Regions from separate parts of the Homo sapiens genome. Here all the other regions are linked to region 1. The links are contacts of gene promoters, found by promoter capture Hi-C in human tissues and cell types (Jung and others, 2019). All regions are on one chromosome and are shown on one strand. The core of a region is centred on a gene start or on the middle of the fragment in contact, and the rest is flanking DNA. Distances in the headings are between cores, read along the strand shown.

Region 1 (2,836 bases), core at 247-2,746:
GCCTGGGTCCCAGCGCAGCCCCAGGCCTGGGTCACTCCGAGCCTAAAGTCCTGGAAAGGGAACCCCAGAACAAAGCCTATCCCAGTTTGGAATCATCACACCTGGGCCATTCTCCAGATGCGTGGAGTCCAGCAAAATGGTGGCATTTTTGCATCTCAATTCGCTCATCTGTAATACGGGAGTGATAATGTCTACTCTGTTGCTGCAAGAATTAAAGGAAGACCATGATCTCTTTGTCATGCTTCTATTTATCTTCTTATCTGTCCTGGTCTATTTTTGGATGCTCTGAGCTTACCTGGGGCATTAAGGAGGCCTCATGGCCCTGGGGCTGAGGGGCTCCCTGGCCGTCCCCAGGAGTGGCTCTGCTCTCCGCCTGGTGTCCCCCACTCTGGTCAGTCAAGACCCATGGGCCCAGCTCACTCCCCAATTCCATCACTCACTCTAGGTCAGCTGGTAGGAGTCAGGCCAACCAGCCAGCAGGTACCATTAGAGAGGAGAGAGTAAGGGTCTTTCACTTTATTAAAGGCTTCTCTGCTGTTGTTTGAAAATACTGAGTGTCCCTTCAAGACTAACAGGTGACTGTGTGCACAGTTTCCTCCAGCTCCTGTGAGAAAGCAGTTGCCCCCCTTCCCAAGGCCTGCTTGTCCCCTGCAGGCTGGGGCTGCCTCTTCTTAGGAAGAACAAGGACCCGAATCCAGGGCCCCGTGTTCCTGTCCCTACTCTGTCCCGGTGCTGTGTGGCCGTGGGCCGGTTCCACCCTCCACGCTGTTTTCCCGAGTGTGTATGAAGAGGGTCGGTTGGCCCCGCTCTCAGGCTGGTGACCCGACACAAACTTCCAGGATGAAGTCCTGAAGGGAGCACCTGTTCGCAGGGCACTTTCAGCAGAATCTAGAGCCCCAGGGATTTGAGGATGGATGCGGACACCCGGGCCTGAGGCAGCTCGCGGCCTTGACCGAATTCCACGCGAGCTGAAGCCCAGGGATATCCCAGAATCTTCCTCAGGATCAATCTTCCGCCTTTCACCGGCCCTGCGCCCCCGCAGCATCGGGTCCTGGGCGCGCGCCCCTGCCCCGCTGTGGTCAAGGCCCGCCCCGGTGACGCCTGGTCCTTTTCCCGGGTTGGCGCCGCGTGCGACCCACCGAGGCAGTGGCAGCACTGGCCGCGGTCTGGAGCCTAGCGTCAGGCCGGAGTCCGGCTCTCCTGAACCGGGAGACCGGCGCAGCCCCAGCCACGACCGCTCCCACCCCCGCGGCCGCCGGACCGCGCCCAGCAGCGACTCTTTCTGAGAGCGCTGCCAGAGGGGCCGCGGGAGCCGCAGAGCGCGCGTGGGCGCGGCGCCCGCGAGCCCCCGGGAGGGCCGAGTGCATCGCTGGAGCGATCCCCGCCCGGCCCGGCCACCGCCGTAGCCGCCACCACGGCGGGGCGGGGCACGGGCCGGGGGCGGGGCGCCGGGCGGGCGCGGCGCTATTTCCAGCCTCGCCGGAGGCTTCGCTCTCACTTCGCTGGGAGCCTTCCCGGCGCGCAAGCCGGATCCGGCAGTGCTGCGGGGAGGAGAGAGGACGAGGCGGCGGCGGCAGCAGGAGGTGGGGGACCGATCGCGCCGGGGGCCGAAGAGGAACGCCGCCCCGCGCCCTCTCGCTCCCCGCACGCTCCGGCTGCCGGCCCCACGCTGCTCGCCCACAGATCGCACTGGGTTCCGCTTGGAGCGGGCGGAGGCACCGGGCCCGAGCTGGGTCGGAGGTCCTCTCCGCCGCCTGCGCGCCCCAAGCAGAGGATCCGCCGCGGAGAACCGCTCCCGGACTGGAGGCGCCCGCGGCCTCGGGTGCGTCCGCTGCGCCAGGTAAGTGGCTGCGCCCCTGCCCCACCCCTGTTCCCGCCCTGCGCAGGCTCCTGGCCTGCAGAGACGCCAGGAAGGGGTCCCGAGCGGGCCCCGGACTGCACCGCTCGCCATCCCCGCCACCGCACGCGAATGGGAGTCCGAAGCTGCGGGCGGAGGTGGGCGCGCGGGGCTCGGGTCTGGTTGCACTTTGGGGACCGGCCCCGGTAGCGGGAACTTTAATTAGACTTTCTCTCCTTGGATCTCACTCGCTGCCGCGCTTCTGGGAACTGCCGTCCCTCGGGCCCTCTTGGTCCCTGCGGACTCCCGCTCCGCCTCCTGGCCCTCGGTGCTGCCCGCGGGGAGGCGGCGTCGGGCGCTGAGCAGCGAGCGCCGAGGGCCAGGCAGGAGCGCTCGGGGCGCTGGGGCTTCCTGGCGCGCTCGGAGCCGGGGCTCCGGACGGGTTGCGGCGGGCAGAGACTATGGGGGAAGTTTAAGTGGCCTTGGCTTCCTACCCAGCGGCTCCGTCGCGCGCGTCCCCGACCCGCAACTCTCCAGGGCACCGGCCTGTGAGTGCTGGAGGCGAGTGTGCGTGCGTCAGCGATGGTGTGAAGGTGTGTGCGTGCGTGTGTCGGGAGTGCGGGAGTCGGAGCCTGGGGCGGCTCCAGGGGGCGGGGAAATGATCCGTTTGGCCGCGGGACCGAGCCGAGCTCTGACGGCGGCTGCAACTCCGGCTACCGACTCTGCAGACCCGCTCTGGCCTCGCTGGAGGCCAGCCGGGCCAGGAGGGCGATCACGGGTTTTGGCAGTGCCCGATGCTGGGGCTTGGGTCTGATGTGACCCCGATTCCTTCTCCAGTGCGGGACTCCCGCCGCCCTAACTTTCGCGTACATCTTGTCTCCAGGCCCGCGACCCCGACCCGGAGTTGAAGCGGCTGCGGCGCCCTCGGCTGTGGGCGCTGCTGCCCGGCTGTCTGTTTTAACCCAGAAGTAGGCGCCGATCCTGGGGCTCTCTGTCCTG
Region 2 (2,836 bases), core at 156-2,655, 380 kb after region 1:
GTGGAAGTATAGAGCTCCCCTCTGTCATCTAGTAAAAGTCATAAATAAAAAGCCACACTCAACTCCATGGCTGGTGAATTTTGATAATACTGTTACCAAAATTTTATTTACAAACTCAGTAACAAACAAATTTTTTTCATTAAAAAATACACATCTGTACAGCATTACTCCCTCTAGTGGATCTAAAAAAATAACCATATTGATAAGAATTTCATCCATCTTTTGGGGAACAATAGTAAAAGAAATTTTCATAATAATCATCATGCTGATCAGTGTTTATTTTAATGGTTAATCTGAATTAATTTTTCTTTTCTGTGTAGTATACTTTTTCTTTCCATACACTCTCCTGTAAAAAAAGGTACTTAACATTTACCAGAATAATTAATTACTCATAAATTAGAAAATGACAGACATTTCAAACATTACTTACAAGGATAAAAATTCAAAAACTATTGAAGGTAGTATTATACTCAACATAAATCGTAAATATTCAATGAGTTTCGCAGTCACTTTAAAGTAATGTGCAACTGAGAGGGTCATTGTAATAGTCTATTCACCCACGAACTGTTTAAAATTGGGTTAGTGATCATTTTTAACCCATTTATGCTGGAGGTTGCAATTTTTTGAATTTTTGCATAAGTGAAAAATCAGACCTTGGCGCTGACCTTGAGCAGTAGGATATAAATAACTCCCACAGGCTTGGTGTTCCAATAGTGGAACACTAGGCATAAAATAATAAGTAATCATTCAAGTTTCATGTCTACTTATTTTATAAAGTAAATTTTCGAATATAATGCAAGTATTCATTAGATCCTCAAATCTCATTTGTTGCTTAGAGGGTTTTTGTGAACATTTTTTCATGCCATCACTGTGTCTTATATTTGGGAGCAGAGAGGTAACATATAAATAAAAAGATGACACGTGTGTGTTGGCTTAACTTTTGAGTTTGTCACAACTCAGTCACAGATGTTGCTACTAGGGAACAGACACCTAAAAAGGGGTAAAAAAAAAAATAATGATGTTCAGTTGAGCTGATCTCTGTAGCCTAATCCAAGTGAAATTTTAATAATTAGACAGCAATCCCTGCTATTAGATGATCTGGGACTGGTTTTACTATCGCAAATAACTGAATGGAGTTTCACGTATCTTTTTAGAATGAAGAATTTGAAATGACAACACCACCTTAGAGGTGTGGGGCTCTTGCAGAAGTGAATTTAGGTAAAAGACTGATGACAAGGTTTCGTTTTGTCTGAGAAGTAACATTTAACGGCAGGCAAAGAGATACATTTCCCACCAAAATCGAATGCCACTACCATCTGCAACCCCACAGAGGCTCAGCTACCTAAAATGGAAATGAAAATATAATGTATGGAAATATTCTCTTAGAAAAACTCCTTAAGGCTTCACATGTATTAATGTATTAGTTTGCAAACATTAAGATCAAAGCCAAAGCAACAAATACATCCTAAAAAGTTTTTCGTCAGATTTTTATTAACGATATACAAGTAGCAGGGCATAAAAAATTAATAGGCCCAAGCGTTGAAATGTCAAACCCAATGATCTCTTCCATGCTCACCTCTTTTGCTTTTTTGTTTCAGTCTTGCTGGCACCGGGTCTTCTTGCCTTGAGCAACTCTACACGGTTAAGAAAAGGAGAAAGAAAGGTTAACAGATGGTTTAAGAGCCCCTCATCTGTTGCAGTAAGTTAAAAAATAGCAAAGGAAGGAGAATAGGATCCAAGGTGTCAAAAACGCAAGGCCTAAATTCATAGACGTGTAATTTCAAGCCTTTGGGCTTACCCAATAAACCGTTAAATATTCAGTTTTAAATAAAATCTACTGTAGGTTTCTTTAAAAAAAAAAACCAATTTGCTTATAATATTGCTAACTCAAGTTTAAAATACAGTTTCTCTTCCTTTTTAAGTCTTTAAAATGCTGTACATTGTCCTTCTACCCTCATTAGCCTCTCTATATAATTCCATGCACCCAAATCTTTTATTTCCAAGAAGCCTAACTAATCTGATGGAGCAGCCACCACAAAGCAGAGATAGAAATGTGGTACTCACTCCTGTAGTCCCAGCACTTTGGGAGGCCGAGGTGGGCGGATCACTTGAGCCCAGGAGTTCGAGACCAGCCTGGCCAACATGGTGAAACCCCATCTCTACTAAAAATACAAAAAAAATTAGCCAGGCATGGTGGCACATGCCTGTAATCTGAGCTACTCGGGGGGCTGAGGCAGGAGAATGGCTTGAACCCGGGAGGCGGAGGTTGCAGTGAGCCATGATCGTACCACTACACTCCAGCCTGGGCGACAGAGCGAGACTCCGTCTCCAAAAAAAAAAAAAGAAAAAAGAAAAAAGAAATGTGCCTAACACACACTTCTCACATATCCCATGGTGCCAAACTTTTAGACCCCAAATCACTTCGACAATGAAATCAAACCTGAATTGCTAACAGTTATTTGCACAACATCTGTCTCAGATATAAGCCAGCAACACAAGGCCGGACATCCTCCTTCCATGCTGTTTAGCATGTGCTGATATAGGAAAGGCCTAAAGAACTATGTGAATGCTGGGTGTGGTGGCTCAGCCTATAATCCCAGCACTTTGGGAGGCCAAGGCAGCTGGATCACTTGAGGTCTGGAGTTCGAGACCAGCCTGGGCAACATGGTGAAACCCCCATCTCTACTAAAAATATAAAAATTAGCCAGGCATGATGGTGCATGCCTATAGTCCCAGCTACTCAGGAGGCTGAGGCAGAAGAATCACTTGAATCCGGGAGGCAGAGATCACACCACTGCACTCCAGCCTGGGTGACAGAGCAAGACTCCATCTCAAA
Region 3 (2,836 bases), core at 87-2,586, 330 kb after region 1:
ACGGGGTTTTTATTGGCCAGGCTGGTCTCCAACTCCTGACCTCAGGTGATCCGCCTGCCTCAGCCTCCCAAAGTGCTGGGATTACAGGTATAAACCACTGTGCCTGGTGGCCTCCCTTCTTTACTCCCTATATCTGCTGGTTCCTGCACTCAGAGCTGGAACTGTGCAGAGGGCAAATGTGTCAAAGAAATCCCACACACTCCTGCATCCTCCTAAGGTGTCCCACAGACCTGCCTGGGTTCCTGCTGAGCCAAAAAGTCCATCTGGGGTGCCCACACGTTGACCCCTCTGCCCATCCAGCCAGAGCTCAACAGTGCACATGCTAAGTACTTCTGCACCCAGAAGCACGACCAGGTCACATTTGGAGGCTGGAATGGCAGCCCTTTGGGACTTGACCCTATCTCCCTGCCTTTGCAGCCATCTCTTCTCTCACTCACCCATTCTCTGGCCTTCCCAAGCTACTCACACTCCCGAATGGACCATGCATTCCCACCGACTGTACCCCCATCCTGCAAGGCCTTCTGCACCTGGCAAGCTCTGCCCATTCCCCAGGAGCCCTCACAAGTGTCCCTCCCTCTGTGACTTCTGTCCTGACTCGCCTCCCCTCTGCTGACTTAAGGGCTTTGGAGCACTCACCACCGTATGCTAGTGATTTGCTGCTTCTCCATTGCACGGGGCCCATGAGGCCCTGAGGACAGGAATGGTCTCTGTGTCCTGGGTTTCCCTCCAGGCTGGGGTGGTGTTCTGCATGCAGCCTGCGCTCAATTTGTGCTCGTGGGCACCAAATCAGATGCTCAGAATGGTGGAAAGAACATTCTAGAAAACAGCTACTCTGGTCCATCCACACCCTTCCCAGGAAAAGAAGATATTGATATAAAATCTTTTCCTTTCTCTAAAGAAATATTTGCAAATCTTTTGCCAAAATCTCTGTGAGTGAGCATGTACAATTGCTGCAAACTGCAATGAATGAGCAAAAAGGTTAATTTTCACTCCCCTGTCTGATAACAGGGTTATTGAATCAGACTCCTCAGCAGAGACCCTCAGACCACCGGGCTGAGCCCCTCAGCTTTTTTTTTTTTTTTTTAAATGGGAAAACCACACGTTTAAGGACCATCCTTCTTTTCACCAATGAGAAATCTTGAGCCTCTTCCTAGTCTTGTTTCACTAAAACACTTTATTTTAATCAAGTACTTGGAGAGAAAGCTGCTGAAACTTATTCAAATGCAACACTTAATTTTAATCAAGTAGTTGGGGAGAAAGCCAATGAAACTATTTCCAGAGTATCCTATACAGATAGGAAAGAAGGTAACATGCTGTTCAGAGGCACTGCTGTTTCTGTGACTGGGTCCGTAGTCTAATACAGCCAAAATATTATTATTTAAAATTAAGATGTTTTTTAAAAAAGACACAAAACATCTAAAGCCTCCATTCCAAAAAGTGGGGATCTCTATTACAAAAGAATACCTCAATCAAAGTTACCTGCTATGCCCTGTCTCTTCTCGAGCAGACAGGCCCCTGGGGGAAGCTGGGGAGAAGGAGATTGTTCCAGAGGCCTGGCTTCCAGAAGCTTCCCCCTCTCTCCATGCAAGCAAACAACACACCACTGGACCAGGCTCCAGCAGCTAAAATAAAACAGCTGTGTTTCTCACTCAACACCCTCTTTTACCAGATGAAGGGCACTGATTCATGGAAAGGAGACAAATATTTCAGGCCATTTTTTCAGACACTGACAAGGAGTAAATTAGGAAATCATGTAAGTACAATGCGCGCGTCATCGCTTCCTATTGATCACATGTAATTTACATCTTACAAAGATGTGAATTCTTGCATTCTCACTCCACAAGGAAAATCTCGATGATTTATTCATTTCAAATGAAAAATAGAAGGTAGATGAGAAGAATGACTTCACAGACTGCATCGTTCTCGGGGCACTGGTGCGAGGCTTTCTCATACACTGCCCGAAGGGCTCCGTGTGCAAGTCCCTCTAATTAACAAGGTGAATCACGCTGCAGCTCTCTAATTAGTGAGCCTGACAAGCCAGCGGAAACAGCCAGGCAGACTGGTATACATCGCTGGCCGACAAAGGCACGGCACATTCCAAGTGAAAAATGCAGATTTCTCCGAAATAACTATAAAAAGTAAGATGGTTGGGGAAAAAAAAGACCCACCTAATTTTAATTCTCATGTTTCATGTGCAGTTCTTATTTGCTCTCATGCGTAACCAGCTCCTTGGTAAGATGAGATTTGCCTACGCTCTTTGAACCACCTTTCCAGGGAAACTATCCTTTAAAACAGATGCATTTTTAATGTTATTTTATTGTGGTAAGAACACTCAACATGAGATCTACCCTCTTAACACATTTTTTAAGTGGACAATACAGGATTTTTTACTACAGAGCTCTAGAGCTTATTCATCTTGCTTAACTAAAACTTTGCGCTGCTCATGCCTGTAATCCCAGCATTTTGGGAGGCTGAGGCAGGAGGATCGCCTGAGGCCAGGAGTTCGAGACCAGCCTCGGTAAGATAGCAAGACCACGTCTCTACAAAAAAATTAAATAAAATAATTAGCTGGGTGTGATTGCATGCACATGTAGTCCCAGTTACTTGGGAGGCTGAGGCAGGAGGATCTCTTGAGCCCAGGAGTTGGAGGCTGCAGGGAGCTATGATTGCGCCACTGCACTCCAGCCTGGGAGACAGAGTGAGACTCTGTCTCAAACAAACAACTCTGTGCCTGTTGATTAGTGACTGCCTGTTTCTCCCTCCCCTCAGGCCTGGAAAACACCCCTGCACATTTTGATTCTATGAATCTGACAATTTTAGATACCTCATGCAAGTG
Region 4 (2,836 bases), core at 134-2,633, 260 kb before region 1:
AGCTGTCCTCTTGGAGGCTTCTCCAGGAAAGGAGGCCATCCAGAATCCCAGAGAAGCTGTTCACTGATGGGATTAACTTACTACGTGTAAGTAAGAAGTGGATCCGAGTGACGCAAGAAGTGGATTGCAGTGGAGGTCATTGTGTGCCTCCCAGATCCCACATTCAGGTTGGAGGGACCCATTTCCCCAGCTGTGTTTTCTAAAGTCTCATAGGTACATAGCACAGTAATATGTATATACAACAGAGTCTTGCCAAGCACAGGGGCTCATGCCTGTAATCCCCATTTGTGGGGCTTAGGTGGGAGGATCACTTGAGCCTAGGAATTCAGGACCAGCTTGGCAACATATTGAGACCCTGTCTTTACAAAAAATTGAAAAATTAGCCAGGCATGGTGGTCCACAACTGTAGTCCCAGCTACTCAGGAGACTGAAACAGGAGTCTCTCTTAACTCTTCAGCCCAGGAGGTCAAAGCTGTAGTAGCAGGCCATGATGGTGTCACTGCACTCCAGCCTGAGTGACAGAGCAAGACCCTGTCTCTAAAGCACACACACACACACACACACACACACACACACACACACACACAGAGAGAGAGAGAGAAAGAGAGACAATCTTCTCTATAAGAACAAAGTATACACACAGGCCAGGACTGAGACTGGAGTTTGGGGAATGGGAAGGATTTGGATATATGGAATTGGGAGGAAATGGCCCACCAGATGGCATATCAGAATGAGGCGGGCATTTCCAGCTTTTCTTGATCATCCTCCACCTCCCTCTCCCTAGAAGGAAGAATCCTCCTCCTTCCCTCTCCCACTTCCCTCTGCCCTAGACACACTCCGATCTCACAAGCCATTCTGGCTGCTGCGACTTTTAGTTTTATCCGTCGTCTAGCTGAGATTAAACTGGAATGTTCCATTTGCTCTTTTGGCTCTCAAGTAGGCTCAGGGCTTCCCACCTATGGGTGCAGTTGGATCTTTTTCACTGTAACAGAACAAATGCTCTGACCTCCACCACAAAGTGTTTCTGAGGGTGCCCGGCCTTAGTGAGTTCCTGGGCACCCCCCATAATGTACCCAGGCCATTCATATTTAAGGCCCCCAAAGTCTCCTGAGGGCTTCAGTGGAGCCTCTGCTTCAGCTCCTTCTTCTTCTTCTTCACAAAGTTGATACCCCTATGCCAAGGGCACGGATTCCTGATTTTTACAAGAATCACTTCCTAGAGGCATCAAAGTGGTTTCTGCATTCACTCCAGTTCCCACTTGGCTGAAGGCACAGGGGATCGTTCACGGAGGTCGGGGGGAAAGTCACTCTCTTTGTAAGGACTACAAAACAGCACTTGTCTCTCCCCAAATCCCAGTTTCTTCTGCACCTCAGTTCCCCCCCAGAAACCTCTGCAAAGGAAAGACAACAACCCCACCTTCCTCTTCCAGCCAAAACCCCAACATTTATGCAAATAGACTGGCGACTCCACCTGCTAAACCCAAGTCAATATGAATCCCAGTTGAGGCTGACACAGGAACTGATTATTACCGTGGGAATCTAAACGAAAAATAAGATGAAAAAGGAGCAGTCACGGCGGCCTAGGAGTGGACGCAGATTCCTGACGCTAAGCACAGGGATTCTAGGCCACAAGCCCACCTGGCCTGGCTGTGTCTCCTTGGCCCTGTCTCATCTGTTGGGCACCAGCTCCCCCCTGCCCCCTTCTCCAGCCCCTTGGCTTGGTCCTCACAGGACTCCCAGAACTTGGGACAGGGCCTGGCTCAGAGCAGGAATTCAATCAACATCTATTGACTGAGACAGATGAAAGAGAATAGGAGAATGAGTGCCAGGGACAACCATGTCCCTCTGTCTGGGAAGCTTCTCATTTCCTTCTCAGCTCAGTCTTGTGGCTTCCAGGGGTTGACCTGGTGTTTGGACCTTCAGCGGAGGATGGGGCTTCCCCACTAGACCCAAAAATGGTGTCCTGGGCTTCTCCGTCACCCTGCAGTCTCAAAGTGGACCCCTCCACCTCCCCTTCCTTCTTTCTATCCCTCTCTCCTCCTGGAGGAGCTCCTGTAGATCTACTCTCCCTCTCTGCTCCATTTCTCTGCATGATTTGGGTTTGCCTGGCAGAAGCACAGTCACCGCTCGTGGACTGAGGGAGGGAGTGGGGCCTGAGGCTCTTCTGCTGCTTTCTTCTTTACCCATTTGGCTAAAATCTGGCCTGGGTTGTTAATGTTTTAAAACAGTACTGTTTTAGGTTAATGTTAAGACTGCAATGCATCCCAAATACTTAAAAAAATTTCTCAGAACTATTTTATTTTTAATTAATTATTGTAAGAGATAGGGTCTCGGTCTGTTGCCCAGGTTGGAGTGGGATGGCACTATCGCAGCTCACTGTAGCCTCGACCTTCTAGGCTCAAGCCACCCTCCCGCCTCAGTCTTCCAAGTAGCTGGGACCACAGGCACACGCCCATGCTCGGCTAATTTTTAATTTTTTTTTGTAGAGATGGGGCCTCACTATGTTGGCCAGGCTGGTCTCAAACTTGACCTCAAGCAATCCTCCCACCTCAGCCTCCCAAAGTGCTAGGATTACAGGCACTGTGCATGACTCAAAACAACTTAAGATTTATAAAAAATTGAGAAGGAGGTATAGATTTCCCAGTTTCACCTATTACTAACACCTTACATTCATATATTTGTTATAGTTAACGAAGATATATTGATACATTATCATTAATTGAAGTCCATTATTAAATATTGCCCGTACTTCAAATCTGGATTTCCTTAGTTTCTAATATCCTCTTTCTGTTTCAGGATCCCATCTAGGATACCACATCACATTTAGTCATCATGTC

Evidence for each region. Contacts are between HindIII fragments. The study calls those that stand out against the background at their distance.
Region 2: a fragment that was not itself captured here is called in contact with the fragment with the promoter of CHST8 in region 1 in 5 of the 25 tissues and cell types used here (IMR-90 fibroblasts, dorsolateral prefrontal cortex, lymphoblastoid cells and 2 more).
Region 3: a contact is called between a fragment that was not itself captured here and the fragment with the promoter of CHST8 in region 1, in 2 of the 25 tissues and cell types used here (dorsolateral prefrontal cortex and spleen).
Region 4: a fragment that was not itself captured here is called in contact with the fragment with the promoter of CHST8 in region 1 in 2 of the 25 tissues and cell types used here (dorsolateral prefrontal cortex and mesendoderm cells).

The regions. Positions count from the first base shown.
Region 1 is chr19:33,620,457-33,623,292 of GRCh38, forward strand. CHST8 (carbohydrate sulfotransferase 8) reads left to right here and starts at 1,497. Exons shown (of 5, transcript NM_001127895.2): 1 at 1,497-1,840. RefSeq lists an enhancer at 458-1,202. The HindIII fragment of the contact is 24,734 bases long and covers 1-2,836 here.
Region 2 is chr19:33,998,765-34,001,600 of GRCh38, forward strand. LOC105372371 (a long non-coding RNA gene) reads right to left here. Exons shown (of 3, transcript XR_935921.3): 3 at 1,474-1,634. Among named protein-coding and RNA genes, the nearest start is that of SUNO1, 95 kb to the left of the region's middle. The HindIII fragment of the contact is 5,642 bases long and covers 1-2,836 here.
Region 3 is chr19:33,948,606-33,951,441 of GRCh38, forward strand. No RefSeq gene overlaps it. Among named protein-coding and RNA genes, the nearest start is that of SUNO1, 45 kb to the left of the region's middle. The HindIII fragment of the contact is 5,935 bases long and covers 1-2,836 here.
Region 4 is chr19:33,362,924-33,365,759 of GRCh38, forward strand. No RefSeq gene overlaps it. Among named protein-coding and RNA genes, the nearest start is that of CEBPG, 9.4 kb to the right of the region's middle. The HindIII fragment of the contact is 9,696 bases long and covers 1-2,836 here.